Regions from separate parts of the Homo sapiens genome. Here region 2 is linked to region 1. The links are contacts of gene promoters, found by promoter capture Hi-C in human tissues and cell types (Jung and others, 2019). All regions are on one chromosome and are shown on one strand. The core of a region is centred on a gene start or on the middle of the fragment in contact, and the rest is flanking DNA. Distances in the headings are between cores, read along the strand shown.

Evidence for each region. The method cuts DNA at HindIII sites, captures the fragments that hold promoters and counts their contacts. A contact is called where the count stands out against the background at its distance.
Region 2: a contact is called between a fragment that was not itself captured here and the fragment with the promoter of SPATA31E1 in region 1, in 1 of the 25 tissues and cell types used here (H1 embryonic stem cells).

What each region holds. Positions count from the first base shown.
Region 1 is chr9:87,879,868-87,885,712 of GRCh38, forward strand. It overlaps SPATA31E1 (SPATA31 subfamily E member 1), which reads left to right and starts at 3,010. Exons shown (of 4, transcript NM_178828.5): 1 at 3,010-3,333; 2 at 4,125-4,179; 3 at 4,724-4,784; 4 at 5,046-5,845. The coding sequence starts at 3,025. The region is part of intron 3 of LOC497256 (a long non-coding RNA gene); the gene reads right to left. The HindIII fragment of the contact is 13,080 bases long and covers 1-5,845 here.
Region 2 is chr9:88,027,392-88,033,273 of GRCh38, forward strand. No RefSeq gene overlaps it. Among named protein-coding and RNA genes, the nearest start is that of LINC03026, 48 kb to the right of the region's middle. The HindIII fragment of the contact is 6,094 bases long and covers 1-5,314 here.

The DNA.
Region 1 (5,845 bases), core at 1,760-4,259:
AAGATTATCTTTTTTATCATATAAAAAATTGTCTTCCTATAATCCGTATGTATAATTGCATAATAACTATAAAATTTGGATGCCTAAGCATTTATGTGTACCAAAGGGTTCATAGAATCAATAATCTGTACTGTTTCCACTGTTCTTCAAGTAGATTTCTAGATTAACTATGAAGTCCAAAGGAAGACTGTCAGCAGGATGATCATTTTTTCTTGCCCACCAGATGCACACTCGCAGCACTCCCCTGCCAGCCCGTATTCCCCCATCCGTTTTCCTCATGCGGAAATTAGGGAAGCAGGAGCGCACAGGGGTCCACAAAGGCTGACAATGAAAACACACTGAAATGTACCTCAAGGTCTCTACTGAGACATTCAGACATTGACTATGATAAGGCTGTGCAGCTGAGGTGCACGAATTTCACGTGTATGCAACATGAGAGATATTTGCAGGAAGTTAAGCTTCACGATGGGAAATGCCTGTGTGGGTGTATTTGTTTGTTTTAAATACTTAAGGATGATCAGAGACTATGGGGGGAAAAGCTGTTCTTCCTAAGAGAAATTCACTCTCATTTTCTAAGGAATTCTTCCCCTTTCCTCTGCTTCCCTGCAGGAAACGTGGAGTGAGACCAAAGCTGTGACTCCAGTCCACACCAGAGCCCAGGAAGACTCCCAGGACCCTGGAGATGCCTGAGGACCAGGGGCTTGTGGTATGCGGGAAGGAGGGTTCTACAGTCACCATGAGGAACAGCAATTGGCTGTAGTAAAATACGGACTGACAAAGGCAGGAAGGCAAAAGGCACCCAGGTTCGCCCAGGTGAGATGAGAGGCCCAGTTCTTCCGAGGTAGGTGTGGTGTCCCTCAAAAGCCCCCAGGGTTCTGTTGTGGGCACCACAGTGTCTGGAAGTGTGTGTGGTTGGCGGGGCGGGGGGGGGGTTTGTCAAGGAAGGGCCTTGAGGCTCATTTCCCCTGCAGCAGCAGGAGCAAGGGGCTGGCACTGGGAAGCCTCGCCCTCGTTGCAGCAGGCAGGTGGGTGGATGGTTGGATGAACAGCATAACCCTGCAGTGAAGTCTGTGGAGGGAACAGAGGTGCATGGATGGAGACATGCACACAGCCCACCAGAGACTGGGAACCCCCACACCCACATGGTCCTCTCATTTATCCAGAAAGGCGAACATCAGGTTTGAGGAGGAATGGAACCTAAAACAAATCTTTTCCCTAAATGTGGAGCTGATGCGACCAGTTGTCTCTGCTCTCCAGTTCCTGTTTCTCACACAGAGCGCACCTACTGACCTGGCAGTGGCTTGTTGGGAGGCGATTCCTTGCATGCCCAAGCCCAATTGCATAGGTCAAGATGAGACCCACTTCTCAGGCTTCAGTTCCCTGCAAATGAAGTAGAACTTAGGACCCCCATACTTCCCAGTGATCCTAGCAGGCGTCACTGGGGTCTCCACTCTTGCCAGTTAACCCAGTTGACCACATTAGGGACTGTCATGCCTCCCCAGTGACAATCTCATAAAGGAGGAAGAGACTGTAGACAGATAAAAGCAGCAGTAGATGAAGCAGATATGCTCTTGAAGATGCATGTTCATGAGAACAGACCCAAATAGACTCAGATGGTCTCACTCCCATTGAGGCTATATAGAACGCATGACAAAGATATACATGATTTTCAAGGCCACTTTTCAAGTATTAAATAAATGTATCACATAGTGATTAAAAAGTGCAATCTCTAATCCTGAGTTTCTGCTGCCCAAAAGATGTCTAATAGTATAATGAGAACATTTCCTCCAGGGCTCAAAGTATGCTCCCTATCAGGTACAGGCCAGACATGAGGCCCCAGTGGTCTGGAGCAGGCAGGAGGTGAAAAACAGGACACACTGTGGAGCAGAGAATACAAATGGGAGGCCGAGGCGGGCGGATCACAAGCTCAGGAGTTCAGGACCAGCCTGGCCACTATGGTGAAACCTGGTCTCTACTAAAGATACAAAAATTAGCTGGGCATGGTGGCACACTTCTGTAGTCCCAGCTACTTGGGAGGCTGAGGCAGGAGAATCGCTTGAACCCAGGAGGCAGAGGTTGCAGTGAGCCGAGATCATGCCACTGCACTCCAGCCTGGGCAACAGAGTGAGACTCCGTTTCAAAAAAAAAAAAAAAAAGAATATGTACGGAGGACACGAGTGATCTCAGAAGAGTCTGCTGAACACTGGACTTGAGCCTGGCACGGAATGCCCAGTCCCGCTCTCCACCCAAAGGAGCTGGACCTCAGATCACCCCAAACCACTCCTGGCTCATGGTGGAGCACACATGTTCCAAAACTTAGGAAAGTGAGGACTGTATTTGGGGCAGAGAAAGAAAAAATGGATCAGGACAACATATGAAAGATCTAAAGAAAATAAGTAAAGGCTTAATTATTGTTTTGAAAATAATTTGTCAAAGTGTTTGAGGTTTTTTTACAGCAAGCTCCATAATTCGGTAACTCAAAATTATGTTCCTAATATAAAAATGTCATTTGGAGGTTTAATTATTTGTAATTTTTATACTTTTTAGTTTTGTAAATTTAAGAGTTCTATTCTGGGTTGATGAAAGTAGAAAATGTAAGGTGTGGGAAAATTACAAAAACAGAGGAGATTCTGAAATAATCCTTAAGAAACCACCTAAATTCCTAGGAGAATTTCACAGTTTCAAAGGCTATGAAATGGGTGGGCTCAGGCCTAGATCTCCAAGGTACAAGGAGAGCCAGGTGACACCTGTGTTCCAGGGGAAGAGAATAGAAAATGGACTGAGGACTGTCTCTGACAGGGTGAGCAGCTGGAGTGGGAAGGAGCGATTTGGGGGACCCAGGAGGGTGGAGGGACTGGGGGCTGGGAGCTGAGGGCGGGGCTGTGCTTCAGCCTCCTCCTCCCACTGCCCCTCCCCCACCCCCAGGAGCCCTTTGTGAGGAGGAGGCCCCAGCTGTGTGATACAAGCCTGGGCCCCAGTCCCTAGTCCCAAAGGGGATGCCCAGAGCTCAGTTGCTTGAAGGCGATGGGAAATCTCGTCATCCCTCTAGGGAAGGGCAGGGCAGGCAGGGTTGAGAGTGGGCAGAGGATTCCACCCCCAGCTCCCAGACCATCTGTGGAGTGCACAGGAGACGACATTGCACTTCAGATGGAGAAAATGCTCTTTCCTCTGAAGAGCCCTAGTGCCACATGGCTGAGCCCTAGCTCCACTCCCTGGATGATGGATTTCATCCTCACCAGTGTGTGTGGCCTAGTGCTCCTCTTCCTATTGCTCCTCTACGTCCACAGTGACCCACCCTCACCCCCGCCCGGGAGGAAGAGGAGCAGCAGGGAGGTAAGGAGTCCTCAGCCCAGCCCCACAGAGAAAGATTCTCTCTTCTTTTCCTCCCCTCATTTCCACTTTTCCTAAGCAATGTGAGACCCTTCTGTGATGGGAAATCTCGTCATCCCTCTAGGGAAGGGCAAGGCAGGCAGGGGTGAGAGTGGGCAGAGGATTCCATCCCGAGCTCATCTGTGGGGTGCACAGGAGGCGTCAGGGCAAAAACCAACACTGGACTCAGTGGCAAGGACCGGGTCAGGAGAGGGGTGAGGTCTCTGTGGGAGGAGAGGCCCCAGCCCTGGCTCATCACCCCCTTCCTGGGGCAGGTGCCTGGGGGCCCAGCCTCCTCTGTATGATCTGGGTGTGATCTGGGAGCTGTGCTGAGCTCCTGAGAGCCTCCCAGTAGAGCCTGGATTCGCCTGTGGCTGCACCCCGGCCACATGTGCTTTTTCCTCCTTCACCACAGCCCCATGGTACCCTGGCCTCCTCTCCATTCTCATCCAAAGCAGAATCCTACTGGCAGCTCAGAGGCGCCTGTGGGCCTGAGCCTAGGTGTTCCTTGAGCGGAGGAGCAGGGACTGGGGACAGCCAGGTTGGAGTCACACAGACAACCCTTCCTTGCATTTCCCTAAGAAGGAAAACAGAAAACATTTCATTCACGGTAAACATGAGTAAAAAGCACACACAGAGCTCCCTGAGCTAGAGGCTGAGAGCCGTGTCCCTCATGAGCACTGCGTGTGTGCAGCTGGTCTGGGGAGAGGAGACTGAGAACTGGTCCCAGCCCCTCATCCTTTCTTGCCTCTCAGCCTCAAAGGGAGAGAAGCGGGAGGTCCAGGAGCAGGAAGATCTCAGCTCTGAAAGGTGAGGCTCTGCTGCCCCCCGGGACTCCCCAGAGGTAACTGAGCTTTGCCTGTCCCTGAGGAAGTCATTTGCAGAGGCCTGAGAGGGAAGCTCCTGGGAGAGAAATCAGAACCTGCGGCCTCCTCAGATTCCCTGCGGGAATGAAGCCACGGGCCTGGGACCGGTATTGCCCATAAGGGGGCGGTGTGGGGAAGGGACCAAGGCCTGCCTGGATATGGGGGGAGGTCAGGGAGGCTCCAGGTCCATGTGGACAGCTGTTCACCTCAGCAATGGCTGACTCCTCTTTGAGACCACCCATTTGCTCTCCCAACAAGATGGTTGTGACACCGATGAGGGGGTGGACGTGGAAGCACTTTTTGCAAATGACAAAGTGCTGCACAGTGGAAACCTTCCTGTCACCATTGGGGCCATGTGGCCTCGGACACAGATGCGAGGGCTTCAGGGTCTAGTCCCCCATGGTGTCCCCTAAAAAGACATCCACTCAGCCTCCATGAGGTTCCCAGGCACCGCCCTCTCCACCATAACCCTGTCTCCTGATTTCCAGCTTGCAGAATCCTCCTGAGGGAGCTGGAGGAGACTCGGGACCTGAACTACCTTCTGGAAAGGTGAGGAGCTTCCCCCTTCTGTCCCTGTCCTCCTTCCTACCAGGGCCTCTGATGCAACCCTACGGCCTGGTGGTGATCTGGGAGGGGGAGGTCCCGGGAAGGGGACAGGAGGGGACTGAAGCCCTGGGGCAGGCTTAGGCAGAGCTTTATGAAGTCAGCAGTTGGGGAGGTGGAGGAACCGGGGGCCCCAGGTGCCCACCCGTCCCAGCTTCCCGGCCCCATCTACCCCTGGCTGCAGCTTGTGCCTCTTGTCTCCTGCAGCCACCTGAGGAAGCTCGCTGGCGAAGGCAGCTCCCACCTGCCCTTAGGTGGAGACCCCCTGGGGGACGTGTGTAAACCAGTGCCTGCTAAGGCCCACCAGCCGCATGGGAAATGCATGCAAGATCCGTCTCCTGCCAGCTTGTCCCCACCAGCTCCCCCAGCTCCTCTGGCCTCCACCCTGTCACCAGGCCCGATGACCTTCTCAGAGCCTTTTGGACCACACTCAACCCTGAGTGCCTCCGGGCCACCAGAGCCCTTGCTTCCCCTAAAATGCCCTGCAACCCAGCCACATGTGGTTTTTCCTCCTTCACCACAGCCGCATGGTCCCCTGGCCTCCTCTCCACCTCCACCCGACTCCAGCCTGGCTGGACTTCAGTGTGGCTCCACAACATGCCCCGTCCCCCAGAGCTCCCCTCTACACAACCAGGTGCTGCCTCCTCCAACCAGGGTGATCTCTGGCCTGGGGTGCTCCAGCGATCCCATCTGGGACCTCTATTGCTGGAGGGAGGCTGCCACCACCTGGGGCCTCTCCACCTACTCACATGGCAAATCCCAGCCACGGCATCTTCCCGACCACACCTCAGAGGCTTCCTTCTGGGGAGACCCCACACCCAAGCACATGGAGGTAGGTGGCTGCACATTCATCCACCCTGACGTGCAGAAGCTGCTGGAGACCCTCATCGCCAAGAGAGCACTGATGAAGATGTGGCAGGAGAAAGAAAGAAAACGGGCCGACCACCCGCACATGACATCACTGGGGAAGGAGTGGGACATCACGACCCTAAATCCCTTCTGGAACG
Region 2 (5,882 bases), core at 1,018-3,517, 150 kb after region 1:
AGCAATGTGCCTGGAACCCTCCTCACCTCTTATTGACATCCTTGTCCTTGCAGGAGGACTCTAACCTTAAATTGTTATCACCCAACCTTGTCTGTGACATCCAGATTCCAAAAGTAATAAAATTTTAAATGAAATAAACTGGTAATGAATAAAGCAGTCATGAACTGTCTTTATCAAATAAAGGACCTTTTGGTACCAAAGTGATTCATACATACAAAAAAAGTCTAGGAATATAAGAGTCTTACTGCCAAGCACAGTGGCTCATGCCTGTAATTCCAGCACTTTGGGAGGCCAAAGCGGGTGGATCACCTGACGGTGGGAGTTTGAGACCAGTCTCTACTAAAAATACAAAATTAGCCGGTGTGGTGGCACATGCCTTGTAATCCCAGCTACTCAGGAGGCTGAGGCAGGAGAATCACTTGAACCCAGGAGGAGGAGGTTGCAGTGAGCCGAGATCTTGCCATTGCACTCCAGCCTGGGCAACAAGAGCGAAACTCCATCTCAAAAAAAAAAAAAAGGTCTTACTTTTGCATTCTTGTTCTTACATTTTGTCTGTCAAAGTCAATAGAGGATCCATTTACTTGTGAAATTAGTTTCCTAACCATATGCCATCCTTCCTCCTAACTCCGTAATTTTCTTTTTCTTTTTTTTTTTTGAGATGGAGTCTCACTCAGCTGCCCAGGCTGGAGTGCGGTGGCGTGATCTCAGCTCGCCGCAACCAACATCTCCCAGGTTCAAGAGATTCTCCCGTCTCAGCCTCTCAAGTAGCTGGGAATACAGGCACCCGCCATCATGCCCGGCTAATTTTTGTATTTTAGTAGAGTCAGGGTTTCACCATGTTGACCAGGCTGGTCTTGAACTCCTTACCTCAGGTGATCCACCCACCTCGGCCTCCCAAAGTGCTGGGATTACAGGCATGAACCACAGCGCTCGGCCCTAACACCGTAATTTTTGCATGGTACAATGTAAGCTATTTCTGCTTAAAACTAAAATATGCTTGTAATTGACAGCAAGATAAGCATAAGGTTTTGCATGACTCAGCCAGGTTAATCAAAGAGGATGGTTGCTATTTTGGGAGAAAGGAAGTTAATTAAATATGTAACTAATTTTATATTAGAGAAAACTAATATAATTAAACTGCAGTTTTGAGTGGTATGAGTCAGTATGATGATTAAGAGTGGGAGTCATGAAAAAATACAGTATTTATTAACTATCGGGGGATTGACATATGAAGTCTTCAAAAAGTTTGGGATGGGCTTGGTTATGTGTAATCGTCATGAATTTTTTGTTCAAGTATTTAAAATGTTCAGTGAAAGCTATATAACTACATTACAAACTTTATTTGTGATTTCTAGCAATCTTCCAAGTGAGGTGGAGAAATTAAAGATCTAGAATGCACCTCTGTTGGCCGGAAGCAGTGGCTCTTGCCTGGAATCCCAGCACTTTGGGAGGCCGAGGCAGGCAGATCACGAGATCAAGAGATCGGGACCATCCCGGCCAACATGGTGAAACACTGTCTCTACTAAAAATAAAAAATTAGCTGGGCACGGTGGCGGGTGCCTGTAATCCCAGCTACTCGGGAGGCTGAGGCAAGAGAATCGCTTGAACCCAGGAGGCGGAGGTTGCAGTGAGCCGAGATAGCACCACTGCACTCCAGCCTGGCAACAGAGTGAGACTCCATCTGAAAAAAAAAAAAAAAAAGAGAACCTCTGTGTGGAGGAAAACAATTCTATTAGAGGAAATAAAAGGCACAGGGAGGGCACAGGGAGGAATGTCATATTATTTTGGTACAAGCAGATTTCCAAATACTTAATTAGCAAAAAGTGTTTATCAGAAATCTTGTTTTCTTCTGTATGTTTCATCACACTTTAAATTAGCAAAGAATATTGCCTTTCATCAACATCAAGATGAGGAGAGATAAATTCTGCGTGTTGCAAGGAAGAAGAAAAATAATGAGTAAGGAAGGAGCTCATTGTAAGGATGATTCTTGGCAGAAGCAAGTGGTAGCTCACAGAGGGTGGTGGTAGTGAGAAAATGGTTCCTGTCCTCCACCCCAGGGCTCAACCTTCAGATTTGTGCTTATGTCTGGTCTCCAGCCAGGGGCAGAGAAGAACTGAAGGATAAAACAGGAAAACCTATTGAGAGGGGCAACTGAGATCCTCAATCATAGGTTACTGTAAGGTGAAAATTGCCTGCTCTTTCTTTCTTTCGTTTTTTTCTTTGAGCAGAGTTGCTCTGTCACCCAGGCTGGAGTGCAGTGGCACCATCTCGGCTCACTGCAACCTCTGCCTCCCAGATTCCAGCTATTCTCCTGCCTCAGCCTACTGAGTAGCTGAGACTACAGGTGCCCGCCACCACGCCCAGCTAATTTTTGTATTTTTAATAGAGATGGGGTTTCACCATGTTGGCCAGGCTGGTCTTGAACTCCTGACCTCATGATCTGCCCACCTCGGCCTCCCAAAGTGCTGGGATTACAGGCATGAGCCACCATACCCAGCCTGCCTGCTCTTTCAAATGGAATCCTACAGTTGTCACATCTGGGGTACGTGCACTATTGTCTTTATTGTAAAGGAAAACTGGCATTTACATGGTGTCTCAGTTTGCTTGGGCTATTGTAACAAAGTACAGCAGGTCCTAGAATAAGGTCATTTTGTTTTTATTTATTTTGAGACAGGGTCTTGCTCTGTTGCCCAGACTGAAGTGCAGTGGCACAATCATGGCTCAAGTGATCTTCCTCCGTCTCAGCCTCCCAAGCAGCTGGGACAACAGGCCCCTGCCACTATTTCTGGCTAATTTTTAAAAAATATTTTTTGTAGAGACTGGAGTCTTCCTGTGTTGCCCAGTCTGGTCTCAAACTCCTGTGCTGAAGCGATCCTACTGCCTCAGCCTCCCAAAGTGCTAGGATTATATCCATGAGCCACCTCCCCTGGCCTCAACAGGTCTTTATTATAAGGTCGATGAGAAAAGAATAATCCTCACCTGGGGCCACTACCTGTGTTGGAGTCTGTCTGCATGTTCTCCCCATGTCTGTGTGGGTTTTTTCTGGGTGCTCTCGTTTCCTCCTTGATCCCATGATTGTGCCCATTAGGTGAACTGATGTGTCTACGTGGTCCCAAGGTGAGTGAGGGTGGGCATGTGTGTGAGTGCGCCCTGCAAAGGGAGAAGCGTGCTGTAGGAACTTAACTCTTGTTTATATCAATTAGCCTATTGATTAGAAAATTGATTTTGTTATACATCATTTCACTTAAAGTTAGTTTCCAAGAACTTACTGACAATGTTAAGTGAGGGCTTTCTGTATCACAGACTGGACAGCTTAAACAACAGAAATTTGTTTTCCCACAATTCTGGAGCCCGGAAGTCTGAGATCAAGGCATCTGCGGTGTTGTTCTTTCCTGAGTCCTCTCTCCTTAGCTTTGCAGATGGGCGTCCTTGCCCTGTGTCCTCATCTCCTCTTCTGATAAGGAACACCAGTCATATTGGATTAGGTTCCACCTTAAGGACCTCAGTTAACCTTAGTTACCTCTTTATTTTTTATTTTAATTAATTAATTAATTTATGTATTTATTTTGAGACAGAGTCTCACTGTGTCACCCAGGCTGGAGTGTAGTGGCTCACTGCAACCTCTCCCTCCCGGGTTTAAGCAATTCTCCTGCCTCAGCCTCCTAAGTAGCTGGGACTACAGGCATGCGCCACCACACCCAGATAATTTTTGTAGTTTTAGTACAGGCAGGGTTTCTCCATGTTGGCCAGGCTGGTTTCGAACTCCTGACCTCAGGTGATCTGCCCGCCTTGGCCTCCCAAAGTGTTGCAATTACAGGTGGGAGCCACCACGCCTGGCCTGTTATCTCTTTAAAGACCCTGCCTCCAAATACAGTCACATTCTGAGACGCTGGTGGTTGGGACTTCAACACACGAATTTCGGGTGTCCAGAGGACAGAGTATTATCTGCCATAGCAAACTGACACACACGGCTTCCAGCCAGGAGCATCTTGGAAAAGCTTTTGTCAGAAAGTGAGTCCAGGACTTGGCAACTATACCATGTGTGTCCCCTCTGAAGGGGACAAAGCCCAACCAGTTATTAACCACTCATGTGGGGTGCCTTTGGTTAATTAGAGTAAAGGGAGTCCAGTGGTAGGTGTTCTACTTCCAAGGAACAAGACACTGATAGATTTACAATGTTTAGTAACAGCTAAATCACAGATGTTGATGGGACCCTGATGTCTTTGGTTTTAAAATGGTAAATATGTTTCCTGAAGTATGAAAAACCTCCTATGTAGCAAATGCTGAGAAATACCATGGTGACAGTATTTTTGTGAGCCTGTCACCACAGACAGAGCCAGTGCAATAATGCATCAGTCCCCTTCACCAGCCTCATGCTCTTCTTTATTCTAAAGAAGTGAGCAGGGAGAGGGCCACGGTCCAGTATGGGAAAATGAGCCCTTTCAATGACAAAATTTAAATGTAATGAGCATTAAATGAGCATATTAATTCACAGGAGCAGTTGGTGCTTCTGCCTGAAAGTGGAGAAACGCATGTTTCCAGGGAAGCAGAGACACAGTGGCAGGGTGACACAGCCAGTGCTCACACAGCATCCCTCCGGTGGGCAATCCGCAGTGCAAGGCCACCACACAGCAATGCCACTCCACTGGCAGGGGCTTTGTAGCAGGGATTCTCAAAGGGCATCCTCACACAGCAGCATCGCCGTCAGCTGGAAAAGTATCAGAAATGCAGATTCTTGGCCAGGTGCCATGGACCATGCTTATAATCCCAACATTTTGGGAGGCTGAGGCGGGAGGATCACTTGAGCCCAGGAGATCGAGGCTGCAGTGAGCCGTGATTGTGCCACTGCACTCCAACCTGGGCAACGGAGCTGAGATCCTGTCTCAAAAAATGCAGATTCTTGGGCCCCATCCCAGATCCACTGAATCAAGAACTCTGGGTGTGGGCACAGCAATCAGTATTTGAACCTCTGTGTAGGTAGAGCAAAAATGCAAGACACACAGTTACATTTCATTTTAGATAAGTGACATCATTTTTTAATATGAGTATGTCTCAATTATTGCATGGGACATGTTTAATACTAAAATGATTTGTTGTTTAACTGAAATTCACCTTTAGCTGGGGTACTGTTTTGTTTGTTTGTTTGTTTGTTTTTTAGACAGAGTCTCTCTCTTTCGCCTAGGCTGAAGTGCAGTGGCGTGATCTTGGCTCACTGCAACCTCCACCTCCCAGGTTCAAGTGATTCTCCTGCCTCAGCCTCCCGAATAGCGGGGATTACAGGCACATGCCACCACGTCCGGCTAATTTTTGTATTTTTAGTAGAGACAGGGTTTCACTATCTTGGCCAGGCTAGTCTTGAACTCCTGACCTCGTGATCCACCCACCTCGGCCTCCCAGAGTGCTGGGATTACAGGCATGAGTCACCGCGCCCGGCCTGGGGTTCTGTATTGTATCTGGCAGCTCTGCCTCCAGGGGATTCTGATTCATGCTGAAATTTGGGAACCACCGGCATGGAGGCTTTGCCTAGGTCCAAAGCCCTGTTCTGACCATTTCAATGATGAAGAAAGTGTCTGATCCTCACATTCATTTCCCTGTTACCCTCTTTACCTCCCTGTTTCCCTGTTACCCTCTTACCTCCATCCTTCTTGTCTGATTTGCTCTGTTCACTCATTTACATTTCCTGTGCCTTTTCACATTCGTGACTTCTTAGTTCTGTCTGTGATTTTATAAAGATAACTCCCAAATAAAAATTGCATGGATCTACTGTTTATTGGTTGTAGCTAACTCAGCCAGAGGTTAGACTGTGCATATTTTGACACAGCAACTTGCCCAGGTTCATAAGTGCATTTATAAGACCCTTCTGCATCAGGTTTCCTGCCTGC